4 separate regions of the Homo sapiens genome follow, and all the other regions are linked to region 3. The links are contacts of gene promoters, found by promoter capture Hi-C in blood cells and fetal thymus (Javierre and others, 2016). All regions are on one chromosome and are shown on one strand. Each heading gives the region's core, a stretch centred on a gene start or on the middle of the fragment in contact. The rest is flanking DNA. Distances are from core to core; before and after follow the strand shown.

Region 1 (2,889 bases), core at 49-2,548, 680 kb before region 3:
GCATGTAAAATTCAAGCCTGAAGAACCAATACTATACTAGAATTTTATTACGAAAGCCCAACTTGCGTGTTTCTGGGCCTTTTCTGTACTTTTCCATAGCTTGTATTGGAGAGAGTTATTATTTCCTTGAGAATAGTGTAGTGCATCCTTCGTCACCCAGCTTCCTTCTTTCTCTTCCTAGTTTGCATATCAGCATTGACAAATTAGACACAAAAAAAGTCACGAATGGATAGGGCTCTTCTACAAGGACTGGCTGAACAAAGTTCTATGAATAATTGGTACCAAAATATCAGTTAAGTGTGGTTTTAGTTTAGTTCATTTTGTTAGCTTATCTCCTAACAAAATGTAAAACCTTTATTCTGTTATATAATATTCTTATGGGATCAGAATTCCAGATAGCTTCATAAGCTTTGCCTTTGAAATGTTAATCATGGATTTTCAAAATTGTGCACTTTGGGCCACTGGTAGTGTCCAAACTTATAGTCCAAGCATGTGATCTATAAAGGGGTAATTATTCCCTAAATGAGGTTTTCTCACAGGCTTACCATAGTATAAAAGCCTCTATGGTTCACTTGTCCAAGGTAAAGTTGGAAAGCCAGTGAGGTAAGTGCCAAGGCTGACGGAGTCTACAGTCCCTGTCTTGAAAGCTAAGCCTTCAAAGCCTCTGTGGATGCAGAGGGAAGGATTTGAAGTCTTTTAGGTTTCTTCTTTACAAACTTTGTTCTAATGGGATTGGGTGGCTTGCTAGTGCTAAAAATGGATCCAAGGTAAATAGACATAGAGTCAGTCCACAAAGTCCCATGGTCATTCATACTAGGGGCTCTTGCACTAGGGGCTCTTGGCATTGATTTGAACCAGGCTTTACCTGATAAATGCTAGGGGTAGGAGGCACTGGGAACAGAAAGAGGATCAATTATATTGCCTGTTTCACTGAACTCTTAGGAGAGTTGATCTGAAGCCACGTGAGGTTGGGAGTAGACAGATTGCTCAGGCTCACTCTAGAACCTTCTTCTCGGCTTGTAGTCCCGAGCAGCCACAGCAGCACCACCTAACTACTGAATCTGAGTCTGCATTTGATTCAGAGCCCAGGTGATTCCTACACGCATGTGCGCCAAAGTTTGAAGAGGAACTACTCTTCCCACTTTTTCAATATTCCATCTCCCCCTTACCCACATACACACACTTTTTTTTTCCTGAGCTAACCAGCCCTTTAGGAATCTTGTACCTAGGAAGATGTCAGACCACGCACTCTGGGGCCCACTCTGATCTAGGTTTATTTTTTAAATTTTGATTCAGGTCCAGTGTCTGAATGGTTGCTCTGCCCAGGGTGGAGTTTTCACAGCCCTAAGCACCACAGCAGAAAGTCAGGGCCGGCCAGTGAAGAACTGTGTGGCATTGCTGGATAATGGAAGGAATGGTGTCTCATGTATATTTGTTGTCCTTAAAAGGAAGTTTTCTTTTTTCAGTTCTCATAATTTAGTAATGATATTTTCGGTGGTTTAACCAGAGTTGTGATTGGTAAGTGATTGGTGTCATCTTCTATGACATTTCAATATTGTTCCTCTGTGAGGTAGCTAGAATATATCAGACTTGTTGGATCAGTATTATTGTCCTTCAAAGGTACTTCTTAATTTCATGGTGGAGTGGTGGTTTGAAGTATAGAAACTAAAAGTGATGAAGTTTTGAGTCCATATTTAAGTTGTTGCCTTTTTTTTTTTTTTTTTCAATTTCCAGCCCCAAATATATTCCAAACCTGGAAAATGTCATTACAATATGAGAATGAAAACTTAAGGGACAATCATCACTGGAGTATACGGGACTTCCTTTCCTAATGTACATGTTCTTTCTAGTGAGTAGTTCTCATGTGGGTGATTTTGCCCCCAGGAAACATTGGTAACATCTGGAGACATTTTTCTTGTCAGACTGGTGGAGCTGCTGCTGGCATCTAGTGGAGAGAGGTCAGGGATGCTGCTTCAACATCCTTCCATGCATAGGGCAATCCTATGGCTTAAAATTACCCAGCCCCAAATGTAATGGTGCTGAGATTGAGAAACGCTGTTCTAGAGCACTGGTTCCCAAACTCAGCTACAAATGGGAACCACCTGAGGGACGTTGCCTCCTGATGCCTGATTCTCCCATTGGAGATTCTGGTATAATTGGTCTGAGAGGTGACCTGAACACCAGGAGGAAAAGCTTCCCAGGTGATTCTAATGTACCAAACCACTGATTTATAGGAAAGTTGCCATCTGCAATCTTTAAAATCCTTTAAGAGGTTCACAAATACTTATTTTTGTTTTTTAACAATGCCTATCCCAATGTAGGTACCTCATAGACCCTCATATGTGTTGAGTGAATTCTAAGTTCTAACAGTGCATGTTTAAAAACAGAATAAGTTTTCAGGTGTAATCTCTTGAATATATTTACCCTTCATTTATGTAAAGATTTTAACTTTTTAAAGATTTCACAGTAAGCAAACTAGAAAGCAGGGAAGAATTTGAACTATTTACACTTAGGAATTACAGGGGTTGATGATGGGGACATTGAGAGCTGTGCTGTTGGAACAGGGGCTAAGAAGTCTGCCACTGCAGATGGCCGGAGCAGTGGCTAAGCTCGCATGCATGTGTTTATGCGTCATGGAAGTAGTTACTGGTCACTAGAGCAGAACCGAAGCCTCTGCCCTTTGGAAGATCTGTCTTTATTACAATTTCTGAGAAGCAGTTTGAGTTTGGGGCAAAGCAAAGAGATCAATGACAGCCTGTTGTTTGGCAAGCTATTTGGCTGCAATTTTGTGGGTTATTTTCATTATTCCATAAAGAGTTATTAAATAGGGGGAGGGGCCTGAGGCTGAAGGAGATCATCAAACACTCGTTTGATCATCTAGGGCCCGGC
Region 2 (2,986 bases), core at 425-2,924, 530 kb before region 3:
TATTTCAGGAATACTTGTCCTTGGTTCCGCATCATCTGCTCAATGCAGCCACTGTCTCTGGAAGGAGCAACTCCTATCGGGCACGGCTCCTTTGACTCTTGGGGCCTCCTGCGTCCCCAGCCCCAGCCGTGAATACACAATGGAGATCAGAGGAATGCTGCAGGAGGAATCTAGGGCAGTGCTTAATTGGATCATTCCCCTTCTATTAGACCATTCATATAGGTCAGCACATCTCACTTCACCCTCTCCCTCTACTCAGCAGTGGCTGCCAACCCAAGCTCAGATGCAATTCAAGTTATGTATCTGTATCTTCTTAAGATTCCCAGGGTCTTAGCCTGAGGTACCTGACAAGTTATGTTTCTGGCAAAACATTCCTTCTAGCCTCTTCGATGCTACGGAATAGCTGTGGTCTCTATATTTAATCAAACAAAAACTAGAAGAAAATGGGGGCAGGAGGGCATTGTTGTTGTTTTGACTAAAGTGGTTTGGGCAAGGTCATCTGTTCCAGGTTAGAAGAGAGACATTATTTGACAGACAGCACAAATTACTGATTCAATACTTGGGGGCTCTTAATTCTTGTTAAACATGTATGGTGAATTACTACAGGGGACGAGAGAGGTTTTGAACAAGTTTAAACACATTTGACGACATCTAGCTTAAAAACTCCTTGTCACCTTTCCTGGAAATTGATGTGAGTACCCAACAGAGGTAAAGGATGGCTAAATAATTATTACATTGGCCTTTTGAGGAAAATGCCTAAGTGGCAGGGATGACTTGTTCTCTGCTAAGGCTCTGAGTACTCTTAGATCCATGGTCTTCTAGACTTGAGCTGTCTTGTGCATTCTCTAGTTGCTTTGGAGGTCTCCATTTTGGTGACAACAGAGGCATTATCAGTTGCTTCTGGAATGACAGCCATAATTATTTAGTGCCAGACACTATACACAGCTTTATTTTTATATATATTCTTCAAACCAAAGTCACAAGGAGCTCTAAGATTGTCCTAACATTATCTTATGGTAGGTTGGTCACATCCTTCAGATTTCTCATACGCTTCTGAGAGCAATTCATTCCAATGGTTTAGCCATTGACACAAGAACCAGCTTAAGACCGAGAGCCTGAACTGTAGCTCTGAGCTTCTGTTTCTGGGGTGTGCCTGCTCCTCTCCTCTCTCCACACTATTTTCCTTCTTTCAGTTGAGTTCACCCAACATACATTGGGTAACTGTGTGCCAAGTTCTTTCGAATGTATTGGGTAGTGGGTGGTGATACAGGCTGTAGAGTCAGACCAACCTGGCCTGAAACCTGGCTAGGAGACTTAGGGGAAGTTACTTTACCCCTCTAAGTCTCAGTTTCTTCAATGACTATCCTCAAATGAGACAATGCACACAAAGTATTTAGCAGAGTGCTTGGCACACAGGAGATGTGCAGGACATAATATCTCTCACTATTACACAGATATACACGACAGATCAAAAACAGCTCATGAGCTAGTGGGAAGGAAAACACTACAGGCCATCTGAGTATTTCCTAGTAAGGGCTAGTTTCAAAGGAGTAATAATTATTCCAGCCTTAGTAAGTGGGTAGGTGGAAGATGGGGCTCAGAGGAGTAATACAGGAAATGATACCTGAGCTATGCTTTATTGGATAAGCAGTGGAAGCCATCCTCTGTGGTTTGAAAGACAATCATAAACCTTGTAGAGTCATAAGTAACATGGCAAATATGAGGTGACTTTGGAAGCTCCACACCATTTCTTCTATGTATTAAATGCACATGCTAAGGAGAGGATACCACTTGCATCATGTCATGCTGGTGGCAGCAAAGAGGCCAACAGAGAGCACAAGCACAAGCACGGCAGCAAGTAGGAGGAGGATGGAGACTGTGTAGGAGGGAGAGAATGAGGTGGGGAGAAGCAGAAGCCAGGCAGGAACGCAACCGCGGGCTTTCACCAATCTGTGGAATGTAGGGGAACTCAAACTCAGAGCCTGCAGGGATGGAACTGGACAGTCCCCAAGAACTCTGCACTTGGGACTCTGCCCAGCCGTGTGGCCACACCCAGGGCCCCAGCTGTCTGGTTCTCAGCAGCTCTGCCCAGGCTCTTCACCTTTGTCAATCCGATCTTCCTGCTTCTTTGTCTGCTTTGATTACCTAAGCCATGCCTGCCACATCACCCCATCCCTCCATCTTTTCTCTTATTATCCCCCATATAGAATGACTTTTTGTTCACATCTATCGGTAAAAAAATTTCACCTATTTTATTTTTATTTACTTATTTATTTGTTTTTTTGAGGCAGAGTTTTGCTTTTGTCACCTAGGATGGACTGCAGTGGCATGATCTTGGATCATTGCAACCTCCACCTCCTGGGTTCAAGCAATTCTCCTGCCTCAGCTTCCTGAGTAGCTGGGATTACAGGTGCCTGCCACCACGCCCAGCTAATTTTTGTATTTTTTTTTCTTTTTTTTTAATAGAGACAGGGTTTTCCCATGTTGGCATGTTGGCCAGGCTGGTCTTGAACTCCTGACCTCAGAAGATCCACCCGCCTTGGCCTCCCAAAGTGCTGGGATTAAAGGTGTGAGCCACCACACCTGGCCTATTTTATTTTTTTGACAGGGTCTCGCTCTGTCACCCAGGCTGGACTTTAGTGGCATGATCATGGCCCACTGCAACCTCCCCCTCCTGAGCTCAAGCTGTTCTCCCACCTCAGCCCTCCAAGTAGCTGGGACCACAGACATGCACTACTATGCCCAGCTAATTTTTGTATTTTTTTTATAGAGAAAGGGTCTCCCCATGTTGCCCAGGATGGTCTTGAACTCCTGGGCTCAAGCAATCCTCCTGCCAGGCCTCCCAAGGTGCTGGGATTACAGGCGCGAACCACCACAGCTGGCCAATAAAACATTATAAACCTAAAAAATATGTAAAAGATTTTCCTTATTCCTGCTGCATCTATGCACTTCAAGCCTTGCCTATATTGTGATATGCCAAAATATG
Region 3 (2,759 bases), core at 105-2,604:
GAGCCACTGCGCCTGGCCTGTTTGTTTGTTTTTGAGACCGAGTCTCACTCTGTTGCCCAGGCTGGAGTGTAGTGGCCCAATCTTGGCTCACTGCAACCTCTGCCTCCTGGGTTCAAGCGATTCTCCTGCCTCAGCCTCCCGAGTAGCTGGGATTACAGGTGTGTGCCACCATGCCTGGCTAATTTTTATATTTTTAGTAGAGACGGAATTTCACCATGTTGGCCAGGCTGGTCTTGAACTCCTGACCTCAAGTGATCCACCCACCTTGGTATCCCAAAATGCTGGGATGACAGGCATGAGCCACCGTGCCCAGCTGAGAATTTGTTTTATAAAGCAGGAGGCCCCATCCTCTGGGGGCCGTGGACCAGTACCAGTCCATGGCCTGTTAGGAATCTGGTTGTGGCTTGTTAGGAAGTGGGCTGCACAGCTGGAGGTTAACAGCAGGTGAGCGAGCATTACCACCTGAGCTCCAGCTCCTGTCAGACCAGCAGCAGCATTAGATTCCCATGGGAGCAGGAACCTTGTTATGAAGTATACAAGCGAGGGATCTAGGTTGCGTGCTCCCTATAAGAATCTAATGCCTGATGTTCTGAGGTGGAACAGTTTCACCCTGAAACCATCCCTCCCCATCCCCTCAGTCCGTGGAAAAATTGTCTTCCATGAAACTGATCCCTGAGGCCAAAAATGTTGGGGACTGCTGTTATACAGAGCTGTAGGAGAGAAGAATAATGCAGAGGGAAAAGGAGTGCCTGTCTGTTGAGACTTTCAGGGGGACCTAGGGACTGGTTTTGTTACAGTTGACTGGGAATTGTCTTGTTTATTTTATTTTATTTTTCATTTAAAAAATTTTTTTGAAATGGAGTCTTGCTCTGTTGCCCAGGCTGGAGAGCAGTGGTGCCATCTTGGCTCACTGCAACCTCTGCCTCCCAGATAAAGTGAAGCTCCTGCCTCAGCCTCCTGAATAGCTGGGATTACAGGCATGCACTACCACACCTGGCTAATTTTTGTATTTTTAGTAGAGATGTGTTTCATCATGTCAGCCAGGCTGGTCTTGAACTCCTGACCTCAAGTGATCCACCTGCCTCAGCCTCCCAAAATACTGAGATTACAGGCATGAGCCACCGTGCCTGGCCAAAGTGTCTTGTTTTATTTTTAAGTCTTTGATCACTCTCATTTACAGTAAGTGTTTGAAGAGTACATTCTAAATCATTTTTCTCTCTTCCTTTACAGGAAGTGCTCAAATGTTGAGCACACACACACAAAAAAAGAGGAAACAGTTGGATAGGAACTCAGAAATCATGTGACTGATGACTAAGTTAAATCTTTTCTGCTTACTGAAAAGGAAGAGTCTGATGATTAGTTACTGATCCTCTTTGCATTTGTAAAGCTTTGGAGATATTGAATCATGTTACCATTTCTGTTTTTTTCCACCCTGTTTTCTTCCATATTTACTGAAGCTCAGAAGCAGTATTGGGTCTGCAACTCATCCGATGCAAGTATTTCATACACCTACTGTGGTAAGTAAAACCGCAAAACAAATAATTGTAGCATCAACTATTTTGAGGGTAAGTTTTCACGAGAACCGTACACTGTTGTGGCTGGAACACACGAAACATCAGTGTGTTCCAGCTGCTGTGGCGGACGCTGCCAGCAGGAAAAGCAATAGCTGGCAGCTGCCCCATGAGAATGTTCTCGACCACTCACAGAGCTTGTGAGTCTCTAAACTGTGTTGTGCTTGACCTCCAAGTGCTTCTGTTCCCTGCGTCATCTTTCTCTACCCTGAGCCCAGTTTTTGGTTCTGCCCATTTTTAATAAAACCATCTGCTTCTGAGCTTTCACCTCAGCCTTGACACTTACTAGTTCTTCTTCTTGAGATGGTAGAGCAGTCCCAGCTGCTTCCTGGAGTTGATTTCTGCTCTAAGCTGTGACTCTTGAGTGCTCTTGGAATCATCCCCCTCACTGGATGAAAGCCTGGTTCTGTCACTAGCTGTGTGACCTTAAGCAAAGTACTCCAGCCTTTTTAGCACTGAAGTGAAAGTGATTTTATAGTCTACTTGATAAGGGTGTTGTGAGGTGAAGTTTTTTAGCATAGGGTCACATAGAGACAATAATACTCTTAATTTTTTTTTGGAGTCAGCCATACCCTAATACTATTCACTGGCTGTGTCACTGTCCCCTGCCCCAGCTGCTCATTAGCAAGTGTCCTGGGATCTGAAGGCACAGTGTCAGGCCTGACAGCTGTTTTGGTTCGGTACTTTCCACCGTGCTGCTTACCATGGGTTGGCTGCCCTTTTCCACCCACTAGCAATAGCTGGGAGGTTTAAAGTGGTGCTTCCCAAAATACCAGTTCTTTGAGATTCTTTTGGGAAAATAGGATCTATGACCTAATCATCTGGGAGAGATTTACAGATGTACTTTGGGTTCTGAGAAGTTCTGCAATAAAGGCACCTGTTTAACCACATTTTCAATTTCATTTGTTGTTTGTTTGTTTGTGTTTTAGTCTGGAGTGTATGTTAACTCTCTTGAGAAACATGCTCTGCCAAATGCTAATATAAAGTGACTTTCGGGAAATTGGGATAATTGCCACATGTGAGGAGGAGACTTAGGAGTGTGGCCAGTCACACACCATGGCCCTTCTCCTGGTGGGTTGCACTGAATTCCCTCCAAACGTATGTCTAAAATCTCTCCATGCTGCAAGATCCTTTTGCATTCCCCTCTTCCAGCAAGGCTCCTACTCTACTTGGCCCCCACTTCCCTCT
Region 4 (3,071 bases), core at 64-2,563, 710 kb before region 3:
TCAATTTCTTGGACTACGGTCCTGACCATGTAGTAATATGAATTCAGACCCCAGACTTGAGCTAGTATGGACCATTAATCTCTAATCTCTAGCAGCTGACTCTTTTCTTACCATAGCTCAAGTAGATGGCAAGCTTCCTTCTTGCCTCCTCAGGTCAATAAGGGGATGTTTTTCTAGTTATCTTCTTAGGGTCAAAGGGTTCTTGTGGTAGATTTTATTTTTCAAAGATAGGTGTACTAATGCATATGCAGTCCCACATGCTCTTCCTTCACTGTGATGTTCCTCCTCTCCTCCATCAAGAGGTGAGATGTTTCTTTCCCTGAAACCAACTTCCTCAGCCAAACAAAAAAACAGTAGAAACCACACTATGTGATTTCCAAAGCTAGGTCATAAAAGTGATATGACTTCCACTTGGCTCTCAGGACACTCACCTTTGAAATCCAGCCACCATTTTGTGAGGAAGCCAGGTGACATGGAGAGGCCACATACAAAGATTACAGCTGACATCTACAGCTAAGGTCTCAGTCAAGAGCCAGCATCAACCACCAGACATGTGAGTGAATAAACCTTCAGGAGATTCCCGTCCTGAGCCTTCAAATCTTCCAGCTGAGGCTCCAGACATCCTGAAGCAGAGCCAAGCTGTCTCTGCTGTGCACTGTCCGAATTCCTGACCCACAGAATCCATGAGCACAATAAATGGTTGTTTCATACCACTAAGTTTTGGAGAAATTTGTTATGAAGCCATAGTAACTGAACAGTACTTCTTTGTGACTCCCAGCTTTCAGCAGATGGCTCAACGGTGGCTTTCTCTGTGAACATTCCTTCATTTCAGGCACCTGGGGATTTCCTTTTCTTTGTTCCTAGCTTAGCCACATTTCCATAAATTATCTTTTACTCAGCATTTGAAATATATTGAAGCAAAATGGGGACCCTTCCATGCCAGCTCAGTCTGCCACATTGCCCAGAAGTTCCCAGAATAGCTTTTTAAATAATGACATAAAGAACTGAATAATTTATTTATTTATTTTTAAACGGAGTCTCACTCTGTTGCCCAGGCTGGAGTGCAGTGGCACGATCTCAGCTCACTGCAACCTCCACCTCCCAGGTTCAAGCAGTTGTCCTGCCTCAGCCTCCTGAGTAGCTGGGATTACAGGCACATGGCCCCAGGCCCAGCTAAATTTTTTTGCATTTTTAGTTGAGAAGGGGTTTCACCATGTTGGCCAGGCTGGTCTTGAACTCCTGACCTCAGGTAATCCACCCACCTCGTCCTCCTAAAGTTCTGGGGTTACAGGCATGTGCCACCACTCCTGGCCAGTAATTTATTTTATATATACACATACATATACATATATATATACACATATATATACACATATATATATACACACACACACATATACATACATACATACATATATACATATATGTATATATTAAAATCAAAAAAGAAAAGAAAAATAATCCTGAGAGTGCATTTATTAAAGACCAGGTAACTTGTTGCAGAGAAAATACAGTCAATAAAAAATTCATTCTCTCTAGTACTCAAATAAAAGGCAGATAATATAATGAGCTACTTTCGCCAATCAAAATGGCAGGGATTTTTTTCTTTACTATTAATAGAGTAAGATGGAGTGCAAGGAATAAGGTTTCAGTGGGAGTATATATTGGTGTAATATTTCCAGCGAATAATCTAGTAATATACATGTCCTTATAATTGTATATATTTTTGACCCAGCAATTCTACTTCTGGGAATTTATCCTAAAGAAATAATCACTGGCCAGGTGTGGTGGCTCACACCTGTCATCCTAGCATTTTAGAAGGCAGAGACAGAAGGATCTCTTGAGCCCAGGAGTTTGAGACCAGCCTAGGCAACATAATGAGACCCTGTCTCCACAAAAAGAAAAAGAAATAATCATTGATACATGAATATCAATTCCTGTATTTCTTATAATAGAAAAGAGAATGAAAATAACTCAAATGTCAAACAGCAGGTGGCAAAATAATCTTTAATTTTAGGGTTGTTTGAACCAAAATAATTACCAAGTGAACATAAAGAAAGATGAGTTATAGATTCATTGAGAAAGATATTTATTTATTCATGTCATGCATTGTGCTAGTAGTTGTAATACAACAATGATTAAAGATAAAGCACATGGTCTATGGGAGGTAGTGGGGAGGAGTAATTAGTTCATTACGATAAAGCTACGTTCAAATTCTATGGCACAACAGAACTTTTGCTGACCTTAACCAGACTGGAGAAGTAGGAAGGTTTTCTTTGTTTGTTTGTTTGTTTATTTGTTTGTTTTTGCTTTTTGAGCAAGTGATGTTCAAGCTAAGTCCCAAAGGTTTTCACAAGTAGAAATCAACTGTGGGAGAGAAGGTTGTTTGTCCACTAAAATCCTGGCTCCTCCTCCAGAGAATAGCGTTTGTTCTAGGAAGTGGCTGCCTCCCTGTGACTGGAATGTGAGCCAATGTAATGTGTAACACTGCAAGAAGCTTCTAAGAAGCTAAGCAAGTATGCTTTCTCCATAGTTTCTCCTTGCCTTTCTGCTGACTGGATTTAGACAAGAGTGAAGTGCTGACGAATGGCAGAGTCTGGGTCCTTCTACCAAGTGAAAGCAAGCCGTTTGCTGACCAGGGACGCCTACCTTGAAATTGTTATGTGAGCAAGAAATAACTTTTCTATGTTAAATCAAGAAAATGTTGGGATCTGTTTGTCACTACAGCTAGCAATAGGCTAATACATGTGACTTTTTATTCTCAAATAATGTAGTAACTCACTTAAATATATTCATTAAGCATGTACGATATACACATAAATGTGTCACGTGCACAAAAAACACACAAAAATAACTAAAGAGAGATTCTGCCTGCACAGAATTTCCAGTCCAGAAGAAAAAACAGTAGCCACTTATACAACTATAATACAAAGCGGTGTGTATAAATTAAATCCTTAGGAGATATATAAAGTAGTAGAAGAGTTAAAAGGAGGGAGATATTACTTTCGGGGGAGATTCAAAAAAGACTTTAAAGAAATTAGAAAATGGCATTTAAATAAGATTTAGACGGC

What was found. The method cuts DNA at HindIII sites, captures the fragments that hold promoters and counts their contacts. A CHiCAGO score of 5 or more calls a contact.
Region 1: a fragment that was not itself captured here is called in contact with the fragment with the promoter of LY96 in region 3 in 4 of 17 cell types (M0 macrophages, naive CD8 T cells, activated CD4 T cells and 1 more); the score reaches 6.9 in M0 macrophages.
Region 2: a contact is called between a fragment that was not itself captured here and the fragment with the promoter of LY96 in region 3, in 1 of 17 cell types (M2 macrophages). The highest score is 7.4, in M2 macrophages.
Region 4: a fragment that was not itself captured here is called in contact with the fragment with the promoter of LY96 in region 3 in 3 of 17 cell types (monocytes, total CD4 T cells and activated CD4 T cells); the score reaches 6.9 in monocytes.

The regions. Positions count from the first base shown.
Region 1 is chr8:73,307,904-73,310,792 of GRCh38, forward strand. The region is part of intron 2 of RDH10 (retinol dehydrogenase 10); the gene reads left to right. Among named protein-coding and RNA genes, the nearest start is that of RDH10, 15 kb to the left of the region's middle. The HindIII fragment of the contact is 1,785 bases long and covers 407-2,191 here.
Region 2 is chr8:73,459,813-73,462,798 of GRCh38, forward strand. All of the region lies in intron 13 of STAU2 (staufen double-stranded RNA binding protein 2), which reads right to left. Among named protein-coding and RNA genes, the nearest start is that of STAU2-AS1, 41 kb to the left of the region's middle. The HindIII fragment of the contact is 5,817 bases long and covers 1-2,986 here.
Region 3 is chr8:73,990,038-73,992,796 of GRCh38, forward strand. It overlaps LY96 (lymphocyte antigen 96), which reads left to right and starts at 1,355. Exons shown (of 5, transcript NM_015364.5): 1 at 1,355-1,517. The coding sequence starts at 1,406. RefSeq lists enhancers at 1,597-1,696, 2,067-2,136. The HindIII fragment of the contact is 3,298 bases long and covers 1-1,385 here.
Region 4 is chr8:73,279,361-73,282,431 of GRCh38, forward strand. It overlaps a transcript of C8orf89 not described here. Among named protein-coding and RNA genes, the nearest start is that of RPL7, 13 kb to the right of the region's middle. The HindIII fragment of the contact is 2,364 bases long and covers 132-2,495 here.